2 separate regions of the Homo sapiens genome follow, and region 2 is linked to region 1. Evidence: promoter capture Hi-C in 16 types of primary human blood cells and fetal thymus (Javierre and others, 2016). All regions are on one chromosome and are shown on one strand. The core of a region is centred on a gene start or on the middle of the fragment in contact, and the rest is flanking DNA. Distances in the headings are between cores, read along the strand shown. Region 1 holds the start of ARHGAP18 (Rho GTPase activating protein 18). Region 2 overlaps ARHGAP18 (Rho GTPase activating protein 18).

Region 1 (4,775 bases), core at 184-2,683:
GTGTTGCAGGCTGCTTTACTGCTTAATGATTACTAATACATTACAGAAAAATGGATGAAAACACTTCAAGATCTCTTGATTTAATGATTTAACATTAAGTCATTTAAAATGATGGAAAATGAAATGGTAACACAGCTAAGGCACAAGCACCAAATCTTTTTTATCTTTGGAAATGAATTCATTCAATGAAATACATACTGTGGATGCTATGTGAGAAACAGTTCCCGTCAGCTGGGAGTCTAACACTGAGTATTACAGCCATTCCTTTGATTTTTCTCCCTCCCTCATATTTGGAGATTTTAAAACAAATGAAAGGCAGCATTATTTCAGCTTAAGGCACAGGCATAAGTCACATAAGAACAAAGAAGGTTTTATTATCACATTAAGCATTGAGGAGGAAATGTGCTTACCGATAACTAATTTAGTGTTCTAGGCTATTAGGTTAGTATTTGCTTCTTGCAATCTTCTAGGCCAATATTTACTATTTATATCTTGATGGAGGTAAAAATGTTCAGCTAGTGAGAAGGTCATTAAGGAGAGAAAGAAAAAAAAAAGCCCTTGGAAAATGGAACAAAGTACACAGATAGGGAGAAAGGTACCCTTTGCGCCTCAGTGGTCTATAGAACATTTGCCCTCTCTGCCTATAAAGTGATTTAACATTAACCACATTTCACTCCAGCAGCAGAGTGCTATCTCCTGACAAAAACTCCTTTTTGAAAGCCTGGGGGAAAAAAAATCCACATACACAAAAGAATGTGAAACATATTGCCACAGGCCAGTGTCTTGGGCTTTTTGCCTAAGAGGTTTGCTTTCAGCAAAGAGAGGGGGGAAAAAAAACACTCTAACAACAACAGCTTGTACAGTACAGTGAACAGCCTCCCTGCTTTTTGGCAGACTTTCCCAGCGAACAGTTCCAGTGGCAGTGCCTTGAGCCCATTCAAGAATTCCATTTCATAGGAAAGGAAGTGTTTCAGATAGACCTATTTGATCTTTCAGCATGTGCAAATGCACCTGCTAAATAGCTAGTCTGACAGCCCATATAGCCCTCTCCCCAGTTCCTTCTTCTCTGTCTTCACCAGTAATCATATGGGTTATTTCAGACTTGGACTAGGTGAGATGAAAAGTACATAAAAATCACGCCAAACGTTGCTACTGCTGCTGCACGAGCTCAGGCTCGACGTGCAGATGGAATTCCCTTCTCCCCACGCCAACTTCCCTGTCACTTTCTTCCTGGAGCAGGTAAGAGGGTTTTGTTTTGTTTTCAGCTTCCGAAGGCTTACCTCGAGGTGGCTTCCTCCCCTGCCTTTGCATGGCTGTTCCCGACGGTCTGGTCCTTGCCGCTGGGGTGGTAGGCTGTTAGTACCACTCCCTGGGAACTGGAGAGCCAGCTCATGGTGAGAGAAGGGACATACTTTCTGCGATCCTGACACAGAGAAGGGGAAAGAAGTTCCTGTCTCGCCTGGCAACTCGCTCATTAGCATTGGCCAGCTCCTCCCCGCAGGCTGGCGATTCACACGGGGAGGGGCGGGGTCTGTCCAGGGAAGGGCTTCCTGCCTCTCCAATTAGAAGCTGCAACTCACAGCATGGTTTCAACTCTGGACAATTGCACTCTGGGCGGCTTTGGTTAAAGGAGGCGAAGGGTGGAAGCGACGGGTTGCACCCACCCCCAAGTTAGTCTGATCAGATTAAACTGCCAGAACGTATATTCAACTCATCACTGTAACTACAAGCCGTCTTACTTAGGAAACCATGAGTTGCTGCCAAGGCTTTTTTTTTTCCCTCCCCAATTCCTCTATCTTATAATTTCTGCTACTTAATGTAACATGAGTAAAGGCATTTCTTAACCCCTTCATGTTCAGCGTTAAAATTAGCCATAGTAAAAAACAACGAACCCGCGGCAAAACTCTGCAATCCAGACGACGAGAAAGGCTTGATCCTTGTGTCCGGTTAAAAATGCCCTCATAAAAATTGTGTGTCCTGGAATGTCGTCGTCTTTCACATAAAGCCAATCTCAAATATACGTCTTGTTTTAGCAAAATATTTTTCAGCACCAAAAAGGGATAGACCTACCAATGCTCTGTTAAGTGTTATTGCTGAGAACAAGAGAAGTCCCTGCCATTTGTTGAGCACCTACTATATGCCAAGCTCTCATGGACGGGGGTTTCACATGTATTATCTCATTCCATTCAATTCTCTCTCTCTCACACACACACACACACCGTACAAGATAGGTATCACTATCATCTGTGTTATACATAACACAAGGAAAGTAAGGCTGAGGGACGAGTTAAGTAACTTCACTAAGATAACACAGTTGCTAGTGCCAGAAGCTGGATTTGAACAGAATTCTAGGCTACATTCCTTTTATTTTTCACCAGTATGCTCTTCTTTGTTTTGCAGATTAAGAAACAAGATCAAAATTATCATAAACACAAAAGACAGCTCTGTTCTTTCTCCCCATCTCCCCTCCAAAAAAAAAAATCACTTTTTTGGTTTGTTTTTGAATCAGGGTCTCACTCTGTCACCCAGGCTGGAGTACAGTGGTGATTGTAACTCACTGCAGCCTCAACCTCCCAGGCTCAAGAAATCCTCCAGCCTCAGCCTCCCCAATAGCTAAGACCACAGGCATGCACTACCACGCCCAGCTAATTTTTTTATGCTTTGTGGAGAGGGAGGGTCTCACTGTGTTGCCCAGGCTGGTCTTGAACTCCTGGGCTCAAGCAATCCTCTTGGCTCAAGCTCCCAAAGTATTGAGATTACAGGCATGAGCCACCACGCCTGGCTTCTACTCTGACATACCCAGTAGTCTGAAGGTTTTTTTAGATTTTTATGATTCATTCAACTCTCTAGAATTCCTCTTGAACAAGTTTCCAATTCCATCATTACATAAACTTATTGCTTATACCTTATCATTATTTAAAACAGTCATGAAAAATAATTTCTTCCTCCTTACATACTCTAGAAGTATCTGAAATTTATTTTTGAACCCTCTTTCTTATAATTTACAAAAGTCTTCCTTAAAAGGAATTTATATCTTCCTCCCTCCCCCCTGCACAACTGCTCAACCTTCCCATTTCCACTTCCATAGGACTTTACTTGCTGTCTCCTTTTTATCCCCATGACCTCAACCACCTCTGGATCCTATAATGCAGTCTTAGCTCCAATATTACAACAGCCCTTTTAGCTCATCTCCCTGTCACCTCCTTTAAATTGCTTTGACATTATGATCACACCCTGGCACTCATGATCCCTCTCCTCGCTTAAAAACCTTCATTGGCTCTCTATTGCTAACAGAGCCAGTTCCAGGCTTTTGAGCAGATCACTGGGCATTCCTGCTACCTTATACATACAAGTCTTTCCATCTGCTAGACACAATCTTTTCAGGTCCTACTATGATTCTTTTCTCTTCATCTGACAGCTAACTTAAATTTTGTACCTACTGAGCCTTCAGTAAACACTGAATGGAGGAAAACCTGAATGAATTGAAAGTATCCTTTAAAACTCTACTAAATTTTTTTTTTTTTTTGAGACAGAGTTTCGCTCTTGTTGCCCAGGCTGGAGTGCAATGGCATGATCTCGGCTCACCACAATCTCCACCTCCCAGGTTCAAGCGATTCTCCTGCCTCAGTCTCCCGAGTAGCTGGGATTACAGGCATGTGTCACGACGCTGGCTAATTTTGTATTTTTAGTAGAGACTGGGTTTCTCCATGTTGGTCAGGCTGGTCTTGAACTCCCGAACTCAGGTGATCCGCCCACCTCGGCCTCCCAAAGTGCTGGGATTACAGGCATGAGCCACCGCGCCCGGCCAACTCTACTAAATCTTTATATTAAAATTGGTAATATTAGATAAGCGGTTCCCATGCACATACCAGTGCTAACCTATGAGGAAATGTTCATCAGTTCAGGCAAAACAAAAACTATAAAGAGAGGGAGGCAAAGATTAAAGTAAATTAGAATATATGTGTTTTGTCTTTTCAGTGTCCTTACATGGAAAAAATGTTAATAACCAGCTCATCCACCCCTCCTTTTTTATGTAGCTACTCTGAAATGCAAACATATGGGAATCACTATCTTATACAATTATTGATGGTAATCACTACATTATCTTTTGGAAATTCTTTTCTGTTTCCCTCCCACCTTTTTCTCCCCCCTTACTTCCCTCTACCTCCCTTTTTATTATCTTCCTTTTTTTTCTAGTTTTCCTTCTTCCTTTGCTATGTCTTTAGCCTGTCAATGTCATCCATGCCCATTGGCAGCCACGGGCACTGCATCTCTCATGTGACAGTTTGCGATGAAGATTTTGTCCAGTTATAGCCAAAACAATTATTTAGTTATATTTTTGCCTAATTATGGTCTTTTCACTTGTTTAATAACAAATCACAATGTACAGGTTGAAATGTAATTGTTTTACAATGTCAAAATAATATTTGGGTTTGCAATATCCACCGTTTTTAATTTCTGTGAGGCAGAAAACCAAATGTGATACAAATTGATTTACATAGCTTAGTACATAAAATTTGAATCCTTCTAATTTAGCTCTCAAATACCTGAAAATCCTCTGAGCTTTTTCTCCTTTCCTCCCACCAAGCCCTGTTGCTACTGGTCGAAGGGTATTACCTATCACAGGCAGAGAGCTGGTAGGACTGTGGCCTGGTGTTCATAGCCTCAGATACATGCTCAAGTAGATTAAAAACAGTTTTCAGAATTTTCCCATGTCATCAAAGAAGCAAACCTAACTACCAGTGTGGTCTCTTAAAAAGCTGTTCTTTGGGAGG
Region 2 (4,866 bases), core at 2,096-4,595, 98 kb before region 1:
ACCATTCTCTACCCCCAATTATTTTTGTAATTGATGAAATAGGTGAAGGGGAGTGGCAAAGACAGAAAAAGAAATAGAGAGGAGGGAAGAGGGAGTGAGAAAAGGAGGAAGAGGAAAAAAAAAAGAGGAGGGAGGAAAAGATAGAAAAAGGGAGTGGGAGATAGGGAGGGAAGGAAGAGGAGAGAGAGGGGGCATGGAGGGAAAGAATGAGGGGGGAAAGAATGAGCAGGGAAAGAATGAGGGAGGAAAGGACAACAGAGGAAGATCCAGAGAAGAGAGGCAGAAAAAATGGAGGGAGAGGGAGAGAGAATAGTACAGAGAAATTTGGTGGGGCCAGGGGGAAAAGAGACAACCAACATTTTTGCATATTATCTTTTAAATTATTTATAATGGACCAGCTGCTGCATAATTTGGCATATGACAACAGGCTGGGTTGAAGAGTTGAGCCAGCTGAATCCACTTAATTGGCCTTCTTAGAAATTACACTTAGTTAAACTTGTCCTTCTGCCAGCCTTCTCGTTGCAAAGTAAAATCTGCATTATATTCACTATTCTGTACTGAAGTAAATGTATTTTTGCCTCCTGTGAGCTGGCCATTGCAGTCTGCTAGTGAGGGCCCGAGTGCTTTGAACTCGGTGAATTGAGGACTATCTTGCCAATGTGGGTAATATGAAGTTATGTTTGTTACCTGTTTCTGAGGAATTATATCTTTGTTAGTGAATGTACTTAAAAGAACTCGTCTCAGAATCACACAATGTCCACTAGTGGCAAACGTGCTATAGGTGTTACATGAAGTGAGACAATGACAAGCTATGAAACTTACAAACACCACAGTTTCAGGGAGCTCTAAGTACCAGACACCAAACCCAGGGGACACAAGTGGAAAATTATGATCAGAATATATCAGGTTACTCGAATCCTATTAAAATGAGATCACTATGTAGTAAGAGCCAAGGAGGCCGAAACTGGTGTCCTAAATCAAGGCAACTTATCAAAAAAAGCAGGTGATGCAAACTGTGAAATGTATAAAGAGTAATTCCAATCCTGGCAACACCACAGCCCATTAGAAGCAGGCCAGGACAGTGTGCACTCCCCAAGAAACACTTAGTCCTGATCCAGCTCTAACGATTTCATAAAGAATGGGGTTATGAAAATGAAGAGAGATTCTCTCTCTTTTCTCCTATTTTCTCTTGGATTTTCAAATTCAGGAAGACAATGTATTGGATGTGGGCAGTGGTTACTTGTGCTATCTCAGTGCAGAGCTAAAGGTGAATTTGGAAGATAGGGTAAAAGTTAGTAGTTAATGGCTGCTTCCAGATACAGCTACAATTCCAAGTATGAGTCCCCTTTACATTTAAATCCCCTGAGGGGATATGCAGTATGCATCCCCTGTAGGGTAATTCCATCTTTATCATGCATTCATTGGAAGCTTTATCCCCCAGGCCAAAAAGTGAGGCACAAAGATGACAGCAGGAGGACACGTGGTACCCTGGAACAGTGGGAAGGAACTGTCATCCAGAGAGAAGAAAAGGCAAGGGAGAAGGGATGGCTCAAATTGGGAAGTCTAGGAATTATTCTTTCACCAGCCAGACTCAGGCTACCCTGGATGCAGCAAGACAGGGAACTGTGTGAATCAGGAAGGTGGTTGAGAGTGTCTCGTCTGGCCGGCTCACTAAGACTAATTATGCATAGGATGTCAAGGTCCCCCATCTGCAGGAGTCTATGATCCTGGCCTTTTTCTTTTTTTTTTCTTTTGAGACGAAGTCTCGCACTGTTGCCCGGGCTGGAGTGCAATGGTGCGATCTTGGCTCACTGCAACCTCTGCCTCCCAGGTTCAAGCGATTCTCCTGCCTCAGCCTCCTGAGTAGCTGGGATTACAGGTGCCCAACACCATGCCTGGATAATTTTTTGTATTTTTAGTAGAGACAGTGTTTCACTATTTTGGCCAGGCTGGTCTCAAACTTCTGACCTCGTGATCCGCCCACCTTGGCCTCCCAAAGTGTTTTTTCTTTTATTTTTAAGAAACAGGGTCTTATTGCTCTGTCACCCAGGCTGGAGTGCAGTGGGACAATGACAGCTCACTGCCACATGGGACTCCTGGGTTCAGGCAATCCTCTCCACTCAGCTTCCTGAGTAGCTGGAACTCCAGGTGACCACCACAATGCCTGGCTAATTTTTTAAAATTATTTTTTGTAGAGACAGGGTCTCACTTTGTTGCCCAAGGTGGTCTTGAATTCCTAACCTCAAGCAATCCTCCCGCCTTGGCCTCCCAAAGTGCTAGGATTACAGGTGTGAACCACCACGCCCGGCCCTGACTTCCGTAAACTCAATTGCTACTACTCATCCTGGCTAAATCTATCACAACTATCCCCACGCCATTAATATTTTAACTCATCACATTCTTTTGTCATAGTATTATTATAGGTAATATGGTGATTTTGAAAACAAAACAAAACAAAAAACTTAGCAAAAACCAGAAGGGACTGTAGAAAAACTAAACTGAATGGTAAAAGGTTTTATTGTTTTATTTTATCTACTTTACTAACAATGGAAAAAAGGGGTAGAGAGGACAAGTTAGCTTTTAAAATGCATAAGTGTAAATAAACAATAAAATGTTTACATTAGTAGAACCCAGAGATTACCTTGATTCTAATGGCAGCTCCAGGGATCCGTAAGAGGCCTTCTGTTTCCAAACCTCTCTCTTCAATTCGAGAAATCAGCTGTGCATAAACAGAGAAACATTCTAATTTCCGTATTTGTAACAGGTACAATTCCGAATTTAACATCTGTTTCACATATAAATAAAACTGATTACAATGACATGTAAACTGGATTTTATGAGGTTTTGAATGCTATTTTACTACCACTGTCCTTCAAAACAATAAGTCCAGAAACTTTTGTTATAATTTAGAAAAAGTTGGGCCTTATGCTACTTTATAACAGAAGTGTGTAATTTCACACAACAGCTGTGGTACTCCAAACAAACAGAATAAAGATGTTCACTGTTTAAAAGCAACTAAGAACATCTATTTATTCTGCTTTTCCAGAAACCTACATTCTGCAATCAAATAAATCTTATGAAAATCTAGCATTTGCATATTTACATCTCATTTTTAGCTTGTTCCAAGAAAGAATTATTTATGACATGCAGAAAAAAGACTGTTTGCAAATATTCATTTTTAAGTCTTTGGTGTTAAACAAAGAAAAATGTCCTTGTATATGGCCTCTAAGTCATACCTGATGCCCAATGAATACGCTGATCTAACTCCAGATTCCCACAAAAAGCATTTTTTTGTTTTTGTTTTTTAAAAAGGCAGAAACCCGCAAAAAGAAGGCAAATGGAGAAATTACAATGACTACTGGAGGCTAAGAAGACAATAAGAGTGGTCAGATTCTTGATAACGTGATCTTCTTGGAGTAGGCATTCCCTGAGCAGTACACAAAGGCCGTATAAAACATATTCTATTTTAAGAAAATCAGTTTTCCTGTCCTCAGTTTGAATATAAGGCATTTCCTAGCATCATATAGGTTTTCCTCCCTGGCACCCACTCTCATTTCACAATTGCCTTCCCTGCTTTATAAAAGACAGACCTATTCTTCACTCATCCACAGTCTTACTATAATATTCTCTGCATGCCCTAAGGCATAAAATCTTCTAGAGTATCAAAAGAATGTAAAAAAAAAAATTTTCAGGGAAGCCTCCTTTAATGATTAAACAAGGCTCTATAAACTACCTGGAGCTTACTGTTTTTCCCTTGCACATAAAAGTGTCTGTTAGGAGCAAAGCATCATAAATGAGGTATTTTGACCTTTGTCTGGATATTCTGAAGTTAGATATATTGTAGTATGTGGACACTGGAAGAGATGTCAACTTTTCTTTAAACACTTCACCTCTTCTATTCCTGGGTTATATTATGGCCAAAGATGCACTGATATTGAGGAAGTCAGTAAGAACTAAGCATAGCAGTCTCAAAATTCTCCTAAGGATTTATTATTAGGAAAAGAGAAGCATCTTTGATCAGTCAAAGCAGTACAGGATTTTTAAAAATTCATCTGGAGTAGGCCGGGCATGGTGGCTCACCCCTGTAATCCCAGCACTTTGGGAGGGCGAGGCGGGCGGATCACAAGGTCAGGAGATCGAGACCATCCTTGTTAACATGGTGAAACCCCGTCTCTACTAAAAATACAAAAAATTAGCCAGGCGTGGTGGCAGGTGCCTGTGATCCCAGCTACTTGGGAGGCTGAGGCAGGAGAATGGTGTGAACCCCAGAGGCGGAGCTTGCAGTGAGCCAAGATCGCAACAGTGCACTCCAGCCTGGGCGACAGAGCGAGACTCTGTCTCAAAAAAAAAAAAAAAAAGAAAAGAAAAAAAATTTCTGGAATATTTTCCAAGACCACATTTTTCAAGTAACACTGGATAAAATCCCATAGCAAAAATTTTAGGCGAATTATTTTAGATCAGATGGGCGTTATTCAAAATAAAGCATTTAAAACCTAATGTAACCAATATTCAATGTATAGCCAATTTTCATTTTATTTGATCTTATAAAATGTTTAAAATGTTTCTAGTCCTATTAACAAAAAGTACAATTGTATGCTAGCTGCTGGAGCAAATTAGTTTTCAGCAATATATGCCTTTCACTTTCATTAAGTACACAGGAAAAAGTGATTGTGACTTCTAAATAACTGAATGAGCGTAATTTCTGCATTTTAATATTTGAGTCCTTTTCATTATTCTCTAAGGCTAAAAACCAGCACCCAATAGAGTTACGTACATATATCGTCAGAAGGAATGCCATGTGTTTTCTTATATATCTCACTGAAAATAACATTTTTAGCTACATTATATTGCATTATTAAAATATAA

What was found. Contacts are between HindIII fragments. The CHiCAGO score rates a contact against its expected background, and 5 or more counts as called.
Region 2: a fragment that was not itself captured here is called in contact with the fragment with the promoter of ARHGAP18 in region 1 in 7 of 17 cell types (monocytes, M0 macrophages, M1 macrophages and 4 more); the score reaches 7.9 in monocytes.

Annotation. Positions count from the first base shown.
Region 1 is chr6:129,708,744-129,713,518 of GRCh38, forward strand. ARHGAP18 (Rho GTPase activating protein 18) reads right to left here and starts at 1,434. Exons shown (of 15, transcript NM_033515.3): 1 at 1,281-1,434. The coding sequence starts at 1,393. RefSeq lists a silencer at 1,708-1,787. The HindIII fragment of the contact is 10,321 bases long and covers 1-4,775 here.
Region 2 is chr6:129,608,892-129,613,757 of GRCh38, forward strand. It overlaps ARHGAP18 (Rho GTPase activating protein 18), which reads right to left. Exons shown (of 15, transcript NM_033515.3): 8 at 2,642-2,719. Among named protein-coding and RNA genes, the nearest start is that of ARHGAP18, 99 kb to the right of the region's middle. The HindIII fragment of the contact is 3,838 bases long and covers 1,427-4,866 here.